Linked DNA regions of Homo sapiens: regions 1, 3, 4, 5, 6 and 7 are each linked to region 2. The links are contacts of gene promoters, found by promoter capture Hi-C in blood cells and fetal thymus (Javierre and others, 2016). All regions are on one chromosome and are shown on one strand. Each heading gives the region's core, a stretch centred on a gene start or on the middle of the fragment in contact. The rest is flanking DNA. Distances are from core to core; before and after follow the strand shown. Region 1 overlaps LINC01868 (long intergenic non-protein coding RNA 1868). Region 2 holds the start of NPAS2-AS1 (NPAS2 antisense RNA 1). Region 3 holds the start of LOC107985814 (a long non-coding RNA gene). Region 4 has its middle 18 kb from the start of PDCL3. Region 5 has its middle 11 kb from the start of LINC01868. Region 6 has its middle 33 kb from the start of LINC01849. Region 7 has its middle 31 kb from the start of LINC01868.

Region 1 (2,700 bases), core at 4-2,503, 300 kb after region 2:
CACTGGGATGTGTCCACCTAGAGTTTTTGCCTCACCTTCTAGACCAGGGTTTGCAAATGACTCCTGGGCCACTAGTTTCCATTCAGCTCATAAGCTAAGAATGGTTTTTATATTTTTAAATGGTTGTAAAAACATCAAAGGAAGAATGATATGTGAAAATTACATGGAATTTAAATTTTGGTGTCCATAAGTAAAGTTTTCCTGGAACATTGCCATGTTCATTTGTTTGCATAGCGTCTATGCTGTTTTCACCACAAAACGGCAGACTTGTGTAGTTACGACAGAGACCGTATGGCCTGCAAAGCCTGAAATATTTATCATGTGGTCATTTGTAGAAATACTTGCCAATCCGGGCCTAGACCATTCTTAGTGCACCTGGGACCCCAGCATTCCCTGCCCACAGGACCCCAAGCCCCTTCCATCACAGGACGGGTTTTCTTCTTGAGGATGGCCAAGGGGCAACTGTCTGTAGGGGACGTAGATGGAGCTTCCACAGTACTTGCCAGTCCCCTTGGTGTGTGAGAAATGGGGGTGAGAAGAGGAATGAGGTACACCTGGGCTGGAGCCTCAGAGCTGGCCATCTCTGACTACCTCGTTCTAGCACGGAGCCCTATGGAGTCCAAGAATTCAATGTTAAAATCTGGCCTTCTGGGTTTGTCGGGAGAGGAAGGCAGACTATATTTTGTTAGAGTTAACTTGATTTATTTTTATTTTATTTATTTATTTATTTATTTATTTATTTATTTATTTTTGAGACAGAGCCTCACTCTGTCACCCAGGCTGAAGTGCAGTGGCAGGATCTTGGCTCACTGCAACCTCTGCCTCTTGAGTTCAAGTGAGTCTCCTGCCTCAGCCTCCCGAGTAGCTGGGATTACAGGCATACGCCAGGTTAATTTTTGTATTTTTAGTAGAGACGGGGTTTCACCATGTTGACCAGGCAGGTCTCGAACTCCTGACCTCAAGTGATCCACCCGCCTCAGCCTCCCAAAGCACTGGGACCACAGGCATGAGCCACCGCACCTGGCCAAGTTAGCTTGATTTGTAATTTTCAAATGTTCAGCAGCATGGCATGTGGGCCTCCATTTGTGTTCTTGCCCTGGGGTTTCATGTGTTGGGGGATTCTCTAGACCACTCCCTTCTGGCCCCACCAGTTGAGGTGCTCTTCACCCAGAGTCACAGGGATTCCTCCCAAACCCACTCTGCCAGAGGTATGTGCTATCACACTTACACAATTTAACTCAGCACTTACAAATTAATGAAACATGAATGTGAAAATGACAGCTTTTTTGTTGAAAAGACCCAAGAAAGATGAGTCTCTAGAAATCAGTGGCATTGACATAGGTGTGGGCAGGACAAGTTTACATGTTTGGGAGAAAAATTGAATATTCATAGGACTCTTGCATCGTATATTCCTTTAAACCTTTGCTCTATTTTTAGAATCAAAACTGCAGAGCATAGCCTGTTTATACACTTGTAGTTTGTATAAGGAAGAAGACATAAAGTTCCCGCAGAAAGACAAGGCATAAGCCAGGGCCTTGACCCTACATCAAAAGATAGGCAAATCAGTGTGCATTTTTGCTTTTTACATGAAATAATTTTAATATCTTTATCATTGTTTATAATTCCCTACTTAATATTTTTGATTAACTCTTCAGTTAATAATTCCATAAGGACAGTTCTATAGACGATGCCATCTTATGCCATCATGGCGAACACAATTAAGCCCTATAGGGAACATTGTCCTGAAAGGTACCGAAGCTCTACAGGCATTATTTCATTTAATTCTCACAGGTCTCATGTGACAGATGCCCCTATAGCTCTCGAGCCATAGGTAATGCAACTATAAGTCGGGTGTGGTGGTGACGCACCTGTAGTCCCAGCAATTCTGGAGGCTGAAGTGGGAGGATGGCTTGAGCCCAGGAGTCCGAGGCTGCAGTGAGCCATGATAGCACCAATGCACTCCAGCCTAGGTGACAGGAGTGGAACCCTCTCTCTTAAAAAAAAAAAGAAAAAAACTAAAAGGTAATACAACTAAAACTCAGAGAGGGCAAGCCACTTGCCCAAAATCACACAGCTAGTAAGTGAGCAGAGACTTGAATGCAAGTTAGCCCTTACTCTGAACTCGTGAGCTTAACATCTGTGCCATCCTCCACATGGCAGGCCCAATACGTGCAGAAGAAATGAACAAATGAATGATAACCCCTAAGCAGCAGGTCTTGCTAACTGGATTGTGGTTCTCTGCGGGAGTCAGTGTGCTGGGTGGGAACAGACAAAGCTATAGGCAAGACATGGCACAAGAGCGTTGATTCTACCTGAGAGCAATCAATAGAAAACTTTTAAAATGTTTAAGTGAGGCCAGGCCCAGTGGCCCACTCCTGTAATCCCACCACTTTGGGAGGCCAAGGCAGGCAGATCACCTGAGGTCAGGAGTTCGAGACTAGCTTGGCCAAAAACGCTGTCTCTACTAAAAATACAAAAATTAGCCAGACATGGTGGGGCACACCTGTAATCCCAGCTACTCGTGAGGCTGAGGCTGGAGAATCACTTGAACCTGGGAGGCGGAGGTTGCAGTGAGCCGAGATGGTGCCACTGCACTCCAGCAGGGCCAAAGAGTGAGACTCTGTCTCAAAAAAAAAAAAAAAATAGTTTAAGTAAACTTGTATATATCACGGAATGAGATGCAAAACATTGCATCACTTC
Region 2 (2,700 bases), core at 198-2,697:
CGAATGTTGTTGAAACAAGGATGGAATTACTCAGCAAAGCCGTAATCCTTTTCTTTTCTTTCTTTCTTTCTTTCTTTCTTTTTTTTTAAACAAATGTGATATTTATAGTGCTGGACTCACGGCTTTTAGATCCTTTCAGTCTTTCTATGACATGCAGCCCAATTCAGACCTTTTCTAAAATACCATGGCCAATTTGGAGTCGTAAAGAACAAGAGGAATGTGGAAAAGTGGCAAAGAGGTGAACAGAGACTGTTAAAAGAATTAAAAAAACAGACTCTGGACTTCTGCAGCAACTTGGATGGAGCTGGAGGTCATTATTCTAAATGAAGCAACTCAGAAATGGAAAACCAAATATCGTATGTTTTCACTTCTAAGTGGGAGCTAAACTATGAGGTCACAAAGGCATAAGAATGAAATGATGGACTTTGGGACTGGTGGGGCAAGGGTGGGGGGATGTGAGGCATAAAGGACTACATATTGGGTACAGTGTACACTGCTCGGGTGACAGGTACACAAATCTCAGAAATCACCCCTAAAGAACTTATCCATACAATCAAACACCACCTGTTCCCTCAAAACTACTGAAATTTAAAAAAAGAAAACCCCAGACACTGGAAAAAAGAACTTGGAGACGAGAGGGTGGGTGTGGGGGGAACCTCATGGCTCGACACAGGCCACACACACATTGGGAGGGACATTCCCCCACGTCAGGGCCTTGGTTGGGACCTAAGTGTACAAGACCATCAGCGCAGCACACTGCGGACTTCTGGCTTGAGAGGGGCTGCCCTTTCCTGGGTCCCAGACTCACCTGTGCCATGGGAGCGGGCGTGCTCTGCAGAACGGTCTGAGGCAGGAGCTGCTGTGTGAGGTCGCAGGACGATGGGGAAGGCAGAGGGGCCTGTGGGAGAGAAAGGGGCTTTGTTACCACTGCTTCTGCCATTCCAGGGGACAGGGATGTGGTCTCTTGGTCCGGTGGGTTCTCTGCGTTCCGCACTGGGGTGAACAGCTCCAAGTCAAGAGTTCTAGAAAGTATAGGTGTCTGTTCCCTGGCTGCACTGCTTCCTACGCAGGGCACAAGGGCAGAGCCCCTGCACAACTGGTGCAGGCTTCCACCCCACCACAGTGTGCTCTGCCAGGCTGCTGCTACCTGCCCAAGCCTGGTAGCTCAGCTCTACTTCCCTTCCCTTGCCTGCTGTCCTGGACTCCGCCCTGGGTGGATTTGGTTGCTCTCCTCCCAAATGGATTAATTCTTAGCGGTGTCATCAAGCAGGACGACGTGCGTGGACTGCTACCATGAGCTGCTGTGCGTCCGTATCTTTTCTGCTCAGCGCTAATGCAGATGGACAGACACGCCATGCATGTTTGTCCATGAACTCATCCAGGCAGTGAGGACTGGGGCAGTTTCACCAGCCTCTGCCCAGAACCTTTTAAGAGACTCCTGGGAAGTGAGCTGAGTCACATCTGCGCTCCCTGATCACTCGGGTGGGTGGGGGAGACAATGTATAGTAACAAGAAATGAAACACTCTGCTTCACGGGCTAGTGGTTTTCTAGTGGTTTTTTTTTTTTTTAAAGAACAGTGAAAGGACTCGTCTGAAGTTATTCCGACACGGCCCCTAGTTGCTAGGGCCTATATAAAAAAGCAGCTCAAATGGAAAGTGTCACCCAGGACAGCATTGGGAGGAAATGACACCAGGAGACCTTGTTTCAGTGAGAAATCCCAGGCACAGGGCTGATCCAGAAGCTGGTCTGGGTTCTGTTTCCCTGCGCAGCTGGGAGGAGACAGAAGCACTCTGGGCCTCCGTTGTTGGCAAAGTGAGTCACACTGGACAGGAGAGTCTGGAAGAATGGCAGGCACAGCTTGCAAGCGCATCTGGAGGTGGCTGGAGAGAAAGTAAGTGGTCTTTGCCACATTCTACTTGAAAATAAAACGCATCGCCCAAGCTTCTCAAGCAGGGTGTGCACAGCCTTTATGGAGACAGCAAGCAGGAAGGTGGCACGTTCACTCCATCTCCAAAGTGACAGTGAAGTGTGGGTGGGAGGGGTTTGGCAACTATCTGGAGGTGGCCCCTAAAATTCCTGGGTACTTCTCCCGTCTAGAAGTGGAGGTCTATATCCCTCTTCATGGGTGAGCTCAGGGCTGCTTTGACCAAGAGGTATGGCAGTGGTGATACTATATGACTTCCGTGGCTAGGTCACAGAGGTCTGCATGGTTCCTGCCTGCGTCTCCAGGTGTCTCCTCTTGGAACCTGGAGTCCACCACCATGCCAGGAGAAGCCTAAGGCTTGAGAGGCCCATGCAAGTCAATGACGGATGGCCTCAGCTGAGCCCAGCCCTCAGCCACCCAGCCCGGCTGCTGGACATTCATGTGCAGACACCATCTGGTGGGTGCATTCCATAGCCTAGGCCCACGAGATCCCCGACACCAAGGAGCAGAGAAGTGCCATCCCCATGATGCCCTTTCTGAATTCCTGACCCAGACTCCATGAACTTCATACATGTGGTTGCTTTAGGCCACTAAGTTAGGTGTAGTTTGCTACCTGGCAATAGATGACCAGAGTGGTGCATGCCAGTGACTTTACATATAGCCAGGGCCATACATCCCGATGTTCTGGAAGGATCTGGCACATGTTGGGGACGCTACCTGATATGTGCAGAGGTACATTTTTGTTGACACTGAGCTGCTCAAATATTTTCACCAG
Region 3 (2,700 bases), core at 132-2,631, 320 kb after region 2:
GGCCCCCTCTAAGTTGCACAGCAATCTGAGCACGGTACCAGGGGCTGGAATTCGAAGCTGCTCTAAGAAACCAGCCAGCATTTCTTTCCTGAAGACACCATAGACCCATCTGCTTCACAGAGTAATGAGAAAACACGTGCGTTAATAAAGGCGAACATTTGCAACTTGCCTACTAGAGACAGCTGAAAGTAAACACTGAGTGGGGATGCTCCCTTATTGTTATCTACACCTTGCCAGGCCACTTAGGAGGATGCCAAGAGCCCGCAGTATTTCATCTCCAGCTCCAGCTTCATCAGAGCCAAGTCCTCATCACTCTATAGTCTTGCCAGCTGAGTGGGCAGTGCCAGCCCCTGCCGTGGGAGGGGGTGTCCAGTGCATGGTGCCCCTATTCCAAGGGGCACCCTCCAGAGCTGCTGTCCCTGCAGAGCTAGTGAGGGTAGCTCTGTTTCTGTTGAGGGCCTACTGGGGACCCCATCCCCTTTCCTCGGTGTGCTTTCGTCTGTTCCCAGAAGCACCATTCATCAGTCGTCCTCACTTTAATCTCCTTCTCCAGTTGACATATTTAAAATTAATGAGGAATTTGTTTTTATCCAACTCTCTCGTTAGGGCAGTGAGCCTATTTCTCCCTCTCAAATGAATCTTCTAGGTAAAATTATGAAAAAATATGTTTTTCTCTCCTACCCTGGCCCTACTTTTAATGTTTTTGGCAGCTCTGAACAGAGCCACTATATAAAAATCAGACATTTTATTGCTCAGTAATTAGCCCAAACTAGCCCAGACAGACAGTTTGCAGGTAGAGAGAAGAAGAGATGGATGAGGAAAGGGTGCCCAGGGATGCAGTAGGTGCTTGTGTGTAATGAGCTTTTGAACAATTTCCTTTGCTGGATTTCTGTGGGCAAAAGGTGTCCCTGAGTAGGCTGTGCCAAGTTATTTCCTGAAGATGTGAGCACTAAAAAGTATTTGTTTCCTCAATCTCATGGTGTTACGGTCTGAATGTGTGTGCCCTCCCCCGCAAATTCCTGTGTGGAAATCCTCACCCCCAAGGTGATGGTGTTCGGAGGTGGGGCTTTGGGAGGCAATTAGGTCATGAGGATGGAGCCCTCATGAATAGGATTAGTGCCCTTAGCAAAGAGACTGCAGAGCACTCTCTTGCTCTCTTTGCATCATGTAAAGGCACAAAGAAGCTGTGGCTGGATGCGGTGGCTCACACCTGTAATCCCAGCACTTTGAGAGGCCGAGATGGGCAGATCACCTGAGGTCGGGAGTTCAAGACCAGCCTGGCCAACATGGTGAAACCTCGTCTCTACTAAAAATACAAAAATTAGCCAGGCATGGTGGCATGTGCCTGTAATCCCAGCTACTCTGGAGGCTGAGGCAGGAGAATCGCTTGAACCCAGGAGGCAGAGGTTGCAGTGAGCTGAGCTGGTGCCACTGCACTCCAGCCTGGGCGACAGAGCAAGACTCCCTCTCAAATATAAAAAAAAAAGGGGGGGCCAGGCACGGTGGCTCACCCCTGTAATCCCAGCACTTTGGGAGGCCAAGGTGGGTGGATCACCTGAGGTCGGGAGTTCGAGATCAGCCTGACCAACATGGTGAAACTCTGTCTCTACTAAAAATACAAAATTAGCCGGGCGTCGTGGCGCATCTCTGTAATCCCAGCTACTCAGGAGGCTGAGGCAGGAGAATTGCTCAAACCTGGGAGGCGAAGGTTGCGGTGAGCCGAGATCGCACCATTGCACTGCAGCCAGGGCAACAAGAGCAAAACTCCCTCTCAAAAAAAAAAAAAAAAAAAAAAAAACCAGACAGAGAGAGAGAGAAGCTGTCAGTCTGCAACCCAGAAGAGGGCCCCCACCAGAACCCAACCATCTGCCACCCTGATCTTGGACATCCAGCCTCCAGAACTGTGAGAAATAAATTTCTGTTGTTTATAAGCCACTGTGGTATTCTGTTATAGCAACCCAAACTAAGATACATGATTTGAAATGACAGGTATGACTGCTTCCTGGTGTCTGTGCGAGGGGAGATCTCACCACAGGCAGGTAGGAGGGCCCTGGTGCAGGTCCCTGAACATGCAGTCTGGGCTTGCGTGGGGCCCTGCCCGTAGCATGCTCATAGCACCCAGCTCACAGACTGAAATGTTCTCTTTGTGGATCTCCCTCCCACAAGAGAAAGTGGTTTCCGTGAAGAAAGGGACTGCATCTTTCTTTGTAATGTGAGCTTTCTACTGTGCTTAGCACATAGCAGGTGCTCAGAAAGATGTGTTGAACTGAGCTGATGTAGGGTGAATACAGACACAGATCACACATGAAGCCAGGTGAGCCTTGGCCCAGGCATGCCCTCTGGGAGAGGCGGGGGATAAATGAGAGGATGCTGCCCCCTCTTTTTCTATCAAGAAAGCCTTCCTGGAGCAGATGCAGCTTGCCTCCGTTTGGGAGCGCTCTGGACACTTCTGTCCTTCTGCTGGACCACCACAGGACACCAAGCAGGCTTCCCTGTCCTCTGTCCTCCCTCCCACCTTCTTTTGTGCTAAGTCCTCCAATCGTCAAGGCCTGGTGTTCTATTGGTGACCACTCTCTCTGCTGGTTAAAAAGCCCATTCTCAGAAGGACTGTTCAGTGTGGCTGACCTTCACTCAGCAGGGTCTGTGACTCCCAGGTGTGAAGCCACTGGCGGAGTATCCAGGGGCCGAGGGCTGATGCAT
Region 4 (2,700 bases), core at 42-2,541, 430 kb after region 2:
GAAAAAAAAACTTCTAGGAGGGGTGTGGGGGCTCACGCCCATAATCCCAGCACTTTGGGAGGCTGAGGCAGGAGGATTGCTTGAACCCAGGAGTTCAAGACTGGCTCAGAAAACAAAGTGAGACCCCGTGTCTACAAAAAATAAAAAAAATTAGCCAGGGTACATGGGAGGCTGAGGTGGGAGGATTGCTTGAGCCTAGGAGGTCGAGGCTACAGTGAGCTGTAATCACACCACTGCACTCCAGCCTGGATGTCAGAGTGAAACCCTGTCTCAAAAAAAAAAAAAAAAAAAAAGGAAAAGAATAAAGAAAATAACTTTTATGTAAGGAAGGCAATTCCTTTTAATAATCAGGCCCAGAGAGACATTGAATTGAGAAAGCAATCACGCTGTACTCCCCGCTTTGAGCTATGTATTGATCAACTGCTTGCTATTGCCACATTAGACACGATAATCCACATTCTATGGCTTAACAATGTATAGCCAATCAATAGGCAATGTTATTTCTGTAAACAAATGAGAATTCCTGACAAACAGCTTTGTATCAGTCCACTCCCTGCCCCCAAGTTTTGCCTTTAAAAATCCCCTTGTAACTGCTACAAATTTGAGCGCATATTCAGGACAACTTTAATCTATGATCTGGGGTTGCAGTCCTCAAGCCTGGCCCAAATAAACTGCCTGCTTATGTTAATTTTGCCTAAGCTTTTTCCTTTCAGGTTGACATACCTGCATTGGAGATGGCCATGTGGGCCATGAGAGAGATAATCTTCAGGTTTGAAGTCTTCCAACTTCTAAAAGTTGATTGAGAGAAAACAGGTGTTTATCTTTCTCATGGAATATTTGATGAGTAAGCTGCAATTTCTCTCCTTGAATTCAAATGAGTTTATGAGGCAGGTTTGTTGGACTTGAATGTAAGCATTTGTCAATATCGATTCCTGCACTGATGACCTAACACCGCCCATGTATTCTTACCTGATTCTCACTGCATCTCTAAGAGGTAGGTAGGGATTTTTCATATTCTGAGGAAAAAGAAATTATCAGAATTTAAGTAAATGCAAAGTTACACAGCTAGAAAATGAAGGGATACGTTTTAAAAAAACCCTTGCTCTTTTCTCTCCAACAGCTGAGAAAACAGGGACCGGAGCCAACGTGGATCTACAGTGTTTGTTGATACTGTACTGGGAAGGATGCAGACTTCTAGTGAGGAAAGAGAAGAAATCACAGTTTGGAGTAGAATCCCCAATTATAAACTATCTCGGTGGCTCCCAACTATTTTGATATGATAAAGTCTCTCTAAAATAGAATTCTGGCCGGGCATGGTGGCTCAAGCCCATAATCCCAGCACTTGGGGAGGCCAAAGGCAGGCAGATCACTTGAGGTCAGGAGTTCGAGACCAGCCTGGCTAACATGGTGAAACCCCATCTCTACTAAAAATACAAAAATTAACTGGGCTGTGGTGGTCATCTGTAATCTCAGCTACTCAGGAGGCTGAGTCAGGAGAATCGCCTGAACCCAGGAGGCGGAGGTTGCAGTGAGACAAGATCGTGCCACTGCACTCCAGCCTGGGTGACAGAGTGAGAGTCTGTCTAAAAAAAAAAAATTGAATTGTACCATTCCACTGGCATGGAAAAGGTATGCCTGAGATGTCAAATCACCAGAAGTTACCATGACCTGATTACCACACCTAAAGGAACCTGATTTTTAATGGGTCTATGTCATATGTACTTCACATACTTGACATATGTGTGAAGACAATGTTTGGCAGCTGCTGCCCAGTTCTTCTCGGTTTCCTTTCAAAGTCTCTGCAGTGCCCTTATCCACACCCACACAGATCGAGGTCTGCATCTCACAGGCTATAAACCTTCAGGACAGAGATGGAAGCTTGGGGGAAATGAAATGTTAAGTGGTTAGGGTAGAAAAATAGGAACTGTGGGGTTTTAGGGAGCCGATGTGGCACAAAACCCCAGAAAGCCTTTGAGCCTCTTCAGCCATCACCATGCCTCACCCTCCCTGCCCACCAAGCTCACTGGTGCTGACACCCAAGGCTTTGTGAGGGAGTCAGGCATTCTTATTGTTTATCACACTTGTAGAGTTGGCACACAGTTAGACATGAGCAGGAAAGGGAGCCCCTGGGGGAGGAAGCTCCAGAGACCACCTGAAACCTGCATGCTAAATATGAGCACAGGGGAAGATACCTATGCAGAAAGGAATGTCCCAAACACCCCATCAGATGCCCAGTCGCTGCTCATTCTGCTGGTAAACTGTCAGAATGTAGCTAGCTGTATGCTGATAGGAAGGGAAAAAGGAAAAAGGGGGAATTCCTAAGAGATACACAGGCACAATAGGTACAGATTTGACTGCTGTAGACCTTCCTGGTGTGGTGGTCTCGAGCAAGGCTACCATTAGGTAGGATTTGTATTGATCACCATGCCTCATGCATGCACGTCAACTGACCAGAAGGAGGAATCCCACAAACCTGGGCAGGGACTTAAGACAGGAACAGGAAACTAGACAAAGACAAAGACAGAGACTTAAGACAGAAGTAGGCACTTAAATAAACAGTCCAACATAATAAAAACCACAACACAAGGCTCTCAGGGCTGCTCTGGGTCAGCCTGCCCCTCTCATGATGTGTTCTTTTATTTCCTTAATAAACCTTCTTGTTTACTTTACCAATTGGTCTCTTGGCTGAATTCTTTTCTC
Region 5 (2,700 bases), core at 33-2,532, 290 kb after region 2:
GACATCACCCTGTTTTTATTTAAAGGGCCTTCACTAGTGTCAAGGCTGGGACAAGTCAAGGTGAAGGTCACAGTGAGTCACATCCTGGGGCTGCACCTTTCTTGTCCAGCCTCTTTAGACTTGCTTTGCAGATAAGGCAAGAGAAACACATGTATGGCTCAGGTTTTACAGCCAAGCTTCTTGCTTGCTTTTTAATGCTTAGCGTGGCGAGGTGGTTAAGAGCAGCAACTCAAGCTGGTTTGACAGGGTTCAACTCCGATTTGATCACGGGTTTGCTGTAGGGCCTTGAGCAAGCCACTTCCAACTCCCTGGGCTTCCATGTCCTTGCCACAGACAGGCGAGGAGGGCAGATATGGTGACTCTCCCTATTTTATTAATGGAACAGAGGCTCAAAATGTCACTTGTGCTGCCCCCAGAGTCACAAAGTTATAGATGGAGTAGCAGAAATTAAATCTAGCCTTGCTGAGCCTGAGCTATTCTGGCTGGCATTCTGAAGAATGCCCCGAGAAGGTCTTGGTCTTGCATGGAAGATGAGGACCCTGAAAAGTCAAGTCGTTGGCCTGAGGTCACAATGGCAGCTGGTGGTGGAGCTAGGCCAAGCTCAGGTCCCATGGCAACCAGTGTGGTGTTCTTTATGAAAAGGACATTGTCTCCCCAAGGGGCTGTGGGTCTGGAGAGGTTGCTGGATTGTGAGTTTATTAGGGGAAAGGTTGGCATGGGGGAGAGTTGAGGATTCTAGTGAGCCCACGCCCCAGGAGGGTAGATGCCCAAGGGGTCTAGGAGGCTTCTAGTGTCATGGTCCAGCACTTGGGCTCTGGTGTCAGATAACTGAGTCCAAATCCTCCTTGCACTTCTGCTTCCCAGCTGTGTGACTTTGAACAAATTACTAGACTTTTCTGACCCTCACACTACCCACCTGTGAAGTGGATATATACAAAGTACTTAATACAGAGCTCAGCATCTGGTTAGCTCTTCTGTTTAGTTGAAGTCAATCCACAATCACGTACTGGGGACCTGCTGTGTATTAGAGCCCTTGTTAGGTAACAAAGACTCAGTGGACAGGACAGACATGGTCACTGCTCTCATGGAAAGTGGCTAGGAAGCTGGGTGGGGAACACTGGCAGTAAGTAGGTAGCTATGAGCATGGTGAGCATTACAACAGAGAAAGTGGTAGATGCTGTGGATTTTATGGGACTGGACCTTCCTCCAAGTCTGGGGGTCAGGGCAGTCTTCCCTGAGGCAGTCAGAGGGGAGAGTTGAAGGAAGAGTTACACTTGGTATTGGGAGGGGGCCTGGCCCTTGAGTAGCAGCAGCAGCCCCTCCAGGCAGAACCAGGCACCGGGGGCTACATTTAGCAGAGGCCATGGAGGATGGTGGTCCCCAGCAGCAGTGATTGGTGCAGCAGTGGTTTCTGTCCTCAGTCTCCTGACAGCCCCCATCAATGAGGTGCATATTCCACTCCTGGCAAAGCTCCCAATTTGCAAGTTTTCTGTCATTGTCCACAAAGCAAAGGATTTTTCATTTATTTGAGATAAATAGCTGCTCCAAGTGACGTAACAGACCCAGTTGGCACTACCCTGAGTGGAAAATGTAGCTCAAGACTTCCCTTGTTTGTGTGTTTCTTGGAGGCAGGTTGACTGCTCTCTTGTCTTTAAAAAGACTCTTTAGAGAGCTTATTGTCTAAGAGAGGGGCGTGTAGGCAACCACCCAGGAAGTTCTGTGGGGGCATTCCAGGGATATTTGTGTGTGTGTGTGTGTGAGAGAGAGAGAGAGAGAGAGAGAGAGAGAGACAGAGAGAGAGACAGAGAAAGAGAGAGAGAGAAACCAATGTAACATCCCTACATCCTTGCCCCCGGCCCCCATCATGCCTGGTCACAGGGATGACCTACTTTAATTATTGGAGGGTATGGAACCAAAAGGGATCCCAGAGGCAAATAGCTCTTTAATGGTAGTTGCAGCTAAAAATGAAAGCAACCCTCAGTTCTGGCAGGGACAGACACCCAGTTATTTACAAGACACTCCATTGAACCTGGTCCACCTCCCCTCTAGACCTGGCACAGAGATTGCCTGATGGCTCTAGACTGCAGTCTGATGAAAGAGAAGGAGGCCCCAAAGACCCAGGTTTTGAAGGGGATTCAAGAATTAAGAGAGGACTCCCTCTCTCTGTGCCTCAGTTTCATCATCTGTAAAAAATAGAACAGTATCTATCACAATGAGTTGGTATGAAGATGAAATGAGTCAATACAACTAAAGTGCTTAGAAGAGTGCGTGGCACATAGTGAGCGCTTGATAAATGCTATTGTTAGTTTGTTGTCATTATCATTTTGCTGTAGTCGTTATGCCAACCTTTACCCTCTCCCCTCTTTGCCATTAACACTATCAAGCTTACAGGCATAAGGAGGGGGGTCAGTGGCTTTCATCTGAGCAAGTGCAGCCCGAAAAGGCCTATCCAGGTGGAAGGATCCCACAGACTGAGCCTCCTTGGGGTCTGTAATGACAACACCTTGTAGCCTGTAACTAGCTCTAAGCCCAGAACAGAAGCTAAGACATTTGCACCCTCAAAACACATCCTTGAGCTCAGAGCTCAGAGACCCTACTGGGTCTGGGTAGGGATGTGTGAAGCACCACAGTGGCCATCCACAGGGAAACAGAGAGAGTAACACTGGAGGCCGGGAGCCACAAGAGCAAGCGCCTTGCTAT
Region 6 (2,700 bases), core at 188-2,687, 340 kb after region 2:
CTCACCACTTTCTTGCTTTTTAAGAGAATTGCCTTCCCTACCCAGAAATACCAAGGAAAGGAATAGGGGGAGTGCAGGTCGGGGGACACCACCCACTGAAAGAAACTGAATTTCCATGACAAGGGAAAGCCCTTCTACCCACTCAGGCAGCATCATCAGGGACCAATGGGATATCCAGAAGCACCAGAGAAACCTAGCAGACCAAAGGCTCTGGAAATCAAACTAACATTAGAACCAGAGTCCATAAGGTAAGGCGAGATGCATGTGCTAAACCTAAATAGGGTACCTGACTGCTAATATGAAATATTTATATAGGACCCAGACTCTCCTGACATAACAGACAAGATATCCAAGATATAATTAAAAACTCACCATTTATGCCAAGAACCAAAATAAAAAATCTCGACTCAAAGGAGCAAAGACAGGCAGCTGACACCAACACCAAGATGAATCAGATGTTGAGATTATCTGACAAGGATTTTAAAGTAGCATCATAAAATGCTTCAAGTTATAAATTCTCTTAAAATGAAAATTAAAAATCTGAGAAAAGATAGAAGTTATAAAAAAGTACCGGATGAAAATGAAGACCTGGAAAAATACAATAACAGAGATTTTTAAACTTACTGTATGAACTCAATAGTAGACTGAAGATGAGAGAGGATATACGTGAACTTGAAGACAAAAAAAATGGAATTCACTCAATCTGAAAAACAATGAGAAAATTGACTGAAAAAAAGACCAGAGACTCAGAGACCTTTGAGACAATAAGAGAAGATCCAAGATTCCTATCATTGGAGTTCCAGACGTGAGCCACTGTGCCCAGCCCCTCAAATAATTTTAAAGAATTGAAATCATGTAGTGTGATACCCAGTCATAATGGAATCAAACAAGAAATCAATAATAGAAAAACAACAGGAAAATAACAAGCAAGGAGTAATTGAACAACATACTTATAAATAATCTGTGGGTTGAAAGAAAGCCTACAAGGAAAATTTTAAAGATACGCAGAACTGAATGAAATGAAAATACAACCTATGAAAATTTGTGGAATGCAGTTAAAGCAGTACTGTGAGGAAATTTTTGGCAATAATGTTATATTACACAAGAAGAATATCTGAAATTAATAATCTAAGTTCCTACTTCAAGAAACTAGAAAGAAAAGAGCAAAATAAAACCAATACAAGCAAAAGAAAGAAAATAAATATGAGTGGAAATCAATGAAATTGAGAATAGGAAAAGAAAATAATAGAGAAAATTGACAACAGAAACTGGTTCTTTAGAATCAATCAATAAAATTGATAAACCTCTAACAAGACTGACAAAAATATAATGAGAGGAGACACAAATCACCAATGTCGGGAATGAAATGAGATATATCACTATAGATTCTGCAACCATTTCAAACAAGGGACCACTATGACTAACATTAAACTCACATATTTGACAACTTAAAAGAAGTGGACTAATTCCTTGAAACAACAAACTACCAAGTCAACCAAGATGAAATTGACAGTCAGAATAACCCTATAACCATGAAGAAAATTAAATTAGTAAATGAAAAGCTCTTAAGATAGAAATCTCTAGGCTCACATGGTTTCACTGGAGAATTCTACCAAACATTTAAAGAAGAATTGACACCAATTTTACACGATCTCCTCCAGTAAGTAAAACAGGAGAGAACATTTAAAAACTCATTTTACGTGGTCAGTATTACCCTAATACAAACACCAGGAAAAGACAGTACAAAGAAGATTACAAACCGACAAGTCACAGGAAGTTAGATGTTGAATTCTCAACAAGATATCCACAAACTTCATCCAATAATGTATAAAAAGAATTATATACCATAAACAAGTGTGATTTCTATCAGATATGCAAGGCTATTTTGACATTCAAAAAATAATTGAAAGTTAGGCATCACATCAATAAGCTAAAGTAGAAATATCATATCATATCAATTGACACAAAAATAGCAATTGACAAAACTCTAATTTTATTCATAATAAAAATTTCAGCAAGTTAGGAATGGAAGGGAATTTTCTCAACTGATAAAGGGTACCTACAAAAAAAAATCCACAAAATCCTACTTAATGGGGAAAGACTGAATGCTTTCCTCCTAAGATCAAGAACAAGACAATGCCCATTCTTACCACCCTTATTCAACATAGTACTGGAAGTTATAACCAATGAAGTCTCAGTAAAGACAAGACATAAAATACATACACATAGAAAACAGAGCACTAAAACTATATTCATAGGAGATATGATTGTCTCTACAGAATATCCCCAGGAATCTATGAAAAAATGTTTAGAACTAATAAGTGAGTTCAGCAATGTCACAGGATACAAGATTAACAAAAATGAATTCCATTTCTATATACTAACTATAAAAATGTAAGAACTGCAATAAAAAATACAATACTATTTACAGTCACTCCTAAGAAGATGAATAGTTAGGTGTCCTTTTAACAAAACATGTACAAGATGTTTATATTGGAAATTATAAAATGTTGATGAAAGAAATTTTAAAAAGCCTAAATAAATGGAGAGGCATACTTACTGTGTTCTCAGATTGGAAAACTCAACATAATAAATATGTCAATTTTCCCTAAATTGATCTATAGGTTTAAAGCAATTGCTACCTAAATCCCAGGAAAGTTTTCTGTAGATATTGACAAACTTAGTCTAAAGTATGTATGG
Region 7 (2,700 bases), core at 150-2,649, 270 kb after region 2:
CTGCCTTCCCAGCCCACTGACTCAAATGTTAATCTCCTTTGCCAGCACCCTCACAGACACACCTAGGATCAATATTGCATCCTTCAATCCAGTCAGGTTGACACTCAGTATTAACCATCGCACCAGGCAAGCGCAAACCAAAAGCTAGCAAGTGTCGCCAGTTTGCCTTCAAAGAGGAAGAAATTCAGGGCCAAAGAACATTAAATGAGACAAACAAGGGAGCATTCTAATGCTAAAAGACACAACGCACAGAAAAGATGAAATAGCTAATAAGCGTCTGTGTGCAAAAGCACATAGCATCAATATTCATAAGGCAGAAATTACAGAGGATATGAGGAGAAATAGAAACACACTTGTAGTAGAAAACTTTTCAAAGCTATTAATTCATGTCAGATCAAATAACAGAAATAAGTAGAAAGTAAGAACATTGATCTGGTTGATATATGTCAAAAATCTATATCCTGAAAATGGAAAGTTTACCTTCTTTACGAAGGTCAGTGAAACATTCATGAACTCTGACTACATAAATGTACATAATAAAATTTCAACAAATTATCAAAAGTAGAAATAGTACAAGCAAATCCCCTAATCATAATAGGATTAAACTAGACATTGATAACAAAGAACTAGAAAAAGATTCTTCCATCTGAAATGTTTTTAAAAGAAAAAACTCTTAACTTTACGTTAACAAAGACATTTTAGAAAACAGCAATTGCAAAACTGTATAACAGAACCTGTGGGTATAGCTGCAGCAGTGCTCAAAGGAAAAGGCATATCCTTAAATATTTATGTTAATGAGGACAGAAAGAAAAAACAAATTATTTTAAACATCTAACTCAAGTTTTTAAAGCCCTGGTTGTTTTTAAACCCAATCTTCAGGCCGGGCATGGTGGCTCACTCCTGTGATCCCAGCACTTCGGGAGGCCGAGGTGGGCGGATCACCCGAGGTCAGGCATTTGAGACCAGCCTGGCTAACATGGTGAAACCCCCGTCTCTACCAAAACAAACAAACAAACACATTAGCCAGGTGTGGTTGCTGCACCTGTAGTTCCAGCTACTTGGGAGGCTGAGGCAGGAGGATTGTTTTTTGTTTTTTGTTTTTTTTTTTGAGACGGAATCTTGCACTGTCGCCCAGGCTGGAGTGCAGTGCGGTGCAGTGCAGAGGCGCGATCTTGGCTCACTGCAACCTCTGCCTCCTGAGTTCACGCCATAGGAGAATCGTTTGAACCTGGCAGGTGGAGGTTGCAGTGAGCCAAGAAATGAAGCAACCTGGGCGAAAAGGGCAAAAGTCTGTCTCAAAAAATAAAAAATAAATAAATTAATTAACCCAATCTTCAACCATAGTGTGTTATCTTAAAATAAATCCATGGTGGTATAATTGGTGTACAACTAACTGCTCGTACTTAAAATGCACGGTTTTGTGAGTTGCGACTTGTGTAGCCACCTGTGAAACCATCACCACAGTCAAGATAACGGACGTATTCATCACCCTCTCCAAAATTTTCTCAGGTGCTTTTGTAATCCTTTCCTCTTGCCTCTCCCAGTCCTGTCCCCAGTCACTGATCAGCTTCTTGTCAATATAGATTGGTTTGCATGTTCTAGAATTCTAAACAAATAATAAAATATATATTGTTTTTGTCCAGCTTCTTTCACTCAGCACAATGACTTTGAGATTCACTGAAATTTTTACAGTTGTAATAATATGATGTCTGGGATGTACATCGAAATTATTAGGAGGAGGGAATGCATGAGTGGAAGTCAAGATGAACGAAGGTTGGCTGTAAATTGATGAGTATTGAAGCTAGACCATGGACAGAAGAGATTCATTATACTATTCTGTCTACTTACATAAGTGTTTCGAATTTTCCATTAAGGAAATGTTTTAAAAAATACTTTTGCTACACCTTGCCACTTTTATGCTATTTTATGTCACACTGCTATATGGTTTGTCTTGAATTTTTATTTCTTGCTGTTATTCAAAATAATCATCCTTGATTTTCCTCTTTGAGGCTTTAAAATCCACTTTTTTTTCCTTGCAGGACCTCAGAAAAGTGGATCAATGTTACTAAAAACAAAACAAAACCAGTCCTCCATTTCAATGTCCCAAACCCTTCTGGCACCAGGGACTGGTTTCATGGAAGACAATTGTTCCATGGATGAGGAGGCAAAGGTGTCAAATGCATTTATTTTGCATAACTCTCTAAACAGTTTCCATCAAGGACTATCAGTGTTCTCCATAGTATTAGTAGTAATAGGATATATATATATATATAAAGTTTAACCTAAGCAAAATTTCTAAAACAAGAGTTTTTTCATTTTAAAAATGAAACTGTTCCATCTCACATCATCAGGCACTGATTAGATTCTAATAAGGAGCGCACAACCTAGATTCCTTGAATGCACAGTTCACAATACAGTTTATGCCCCTATAAGAATCTAATGCCACTGCTGATCTGACACGAGACAGAGCTCAGGAGGTAATGTGAGCTCACCCACTCATCACCTCCTGCTGTGCGGCTCAGTTCCTAGCAGGCCATAGACCTATACTGGTCCACGGTCTGGGAATTGGGAACCCCTGCTCTATTGAAGTTTTTTAAGCACCAGGTGCTAGAAATCATGAGTACCTCTGCCCAAGGGAGGAAATGTTTCAGCAGACTGGATATTTTCTGTCCTATAGACAATGGCATGTAAGATCTGCAC

What was found. The method cuts DNA at HindIII sites, captures the fragments that hold promoters and counts their contacts. A CHiCAGO score of 5 or more calls a contact.
Region 1: a contact is called between a fragment that was not itself captured here and the fragment with the promoter of NPAS2-AS1 in region 2, in 7 of 17 cell types (M1 macrophages, non-activated CD4 T cells, naive CD4 T cells and 4 more). The highest score is 7.1, in M1 macrophages.
Region 3: a fragment that was not itself captured here is called in contact with the fragment with the promoter of NPAS2-AS1 in region 2 in 8 of 17 cell types (naive CD4 T cells, non-activated CD4 T cells, total CD4 T cells and 5 more); the score reaches 11.0 in naive CD4 T cells.
Region 4: a fragment that was not itself captured here is called in contact with the fragment with the promoter of NPAS2-AS1 in region 2 in 5 of 17 cell types (total CD4 T cells, naive CD4 T cells, non-activated CD4 T cells and 2 more); the score reaches 10.6 in total CD4 T cells.
Region 5: a fragment that was not itself captured here is called in contact with the fragment with the promoter of NPAS2-AS1 in region 2 in 7 of 17 cell types (M1 macrophages, endothelial precursors, naive CD4 T cells and 4 more); the score reaches 10.2 in M1 macrophages.
Region 6: a contact is called between a fragment that was not itself captured here and the fragment with the promoter of NPAS2-AS1 in region 2, in 3 of 17 cell types (naive CD4 T cells, total CD4 T cells and naive CD8 T cells). The highest score is 7.5, in naive CD4 T cells.
Region 7: a fragment that was not itself captured here is called in contact with the fragment with the promoter of NPAS2-AS1 in region 2 in 3 of 17 cell types (M1 macrophages, M2 macrophages and M0 macrophages); the score reaches 7.9 in M1 macrophages.

What each region holds. Positions count from the first base shown.
Region 1 is chr2:100,671,057-100,673,756 of GRCh38, reverse strand. All of the region lies in intron 2 of LINC01868 (long intergenic non-protein coding RNA 1868), which reads left to right. Among named protein-coding and RNA genes, the nearest start is that of LINC01868, 7.6 kb to the left of the region's middle. The HindIII fragment of the contact is 7,321 bases long and covers 1-2,700 here.
Region 2 is chr2:100,975,908-100,978,607 of GRCh38, reverse strand. NPAS2-AS1 (NPAS2 antisense RNA 1) reads left to right here and starts at 1,447. Exons shown (of 3, transcript NR_110213.1): 1 at 1,447-1,892. NPAS2 (neuronal PAS domain protein 2) reads right to left here. Exons shown (of 21, transcript NM_002518.4): 15 at 809-898. The HindIII fragment of the contact is 3,647 bases long and covers 1-1,944 here.
Region 3 is chr2:100,653,214-100,655,913 of GRCh38, reverse strand. LOC107985814 (a long non-coding RNA gene) reads left to right here and starts at 2,589. Exons shown (of 4, transcript XR_001739199.1): 1 at 2,589-2,700. The HindIII fragment of the contact is 8,143 bases long and covers 1-2,700 here.
Region 4 is chr2:100,543,551-100,546,250 of GRCh38, reverse strand. No RefSeq gene overlaps it. Among named protein-coding and RNA genes, the nearest start is that of PDCL3, 18 kb to the left of the region's middle. The HindIII fragment of the contact is 1,179 bases long and covers 702-1,880 here.
Region 5 is chr2:100,689,960-100,692,659 of GRCh38, reverse strand. No RefSeq gene overlaps it. Among named protein-coding and RNA genes, the nearest start is that of LINC01868, 11 kb to the right of the region's middle. The HindIII fragment of the contact is 2,208 bases long and covers 179-2,386 here.
Region 6 is chr2:100,635,156-100,637,855 of GRCh38, reverse strand. No RefSeq gene overlaps it. Among named protein-coding and RNA genes, the nearest start is that of LINC01849, 33 kb to the right of the region's middle. The HindIII fragment of the contact is 6,239 bases long and covers 1-2,700 here.
Region 7 is chr2:100,709,485-100,712,184 of GRCh38, reverse strand. No RefSeq gene overlaps it. Among named protein-coding and RNA genes, the nearest start is that of LINC01868, 31 kb to the right of the region's middle. The HindIII fragment of the contact is 6,246 bases long and covers 1-2,700 here.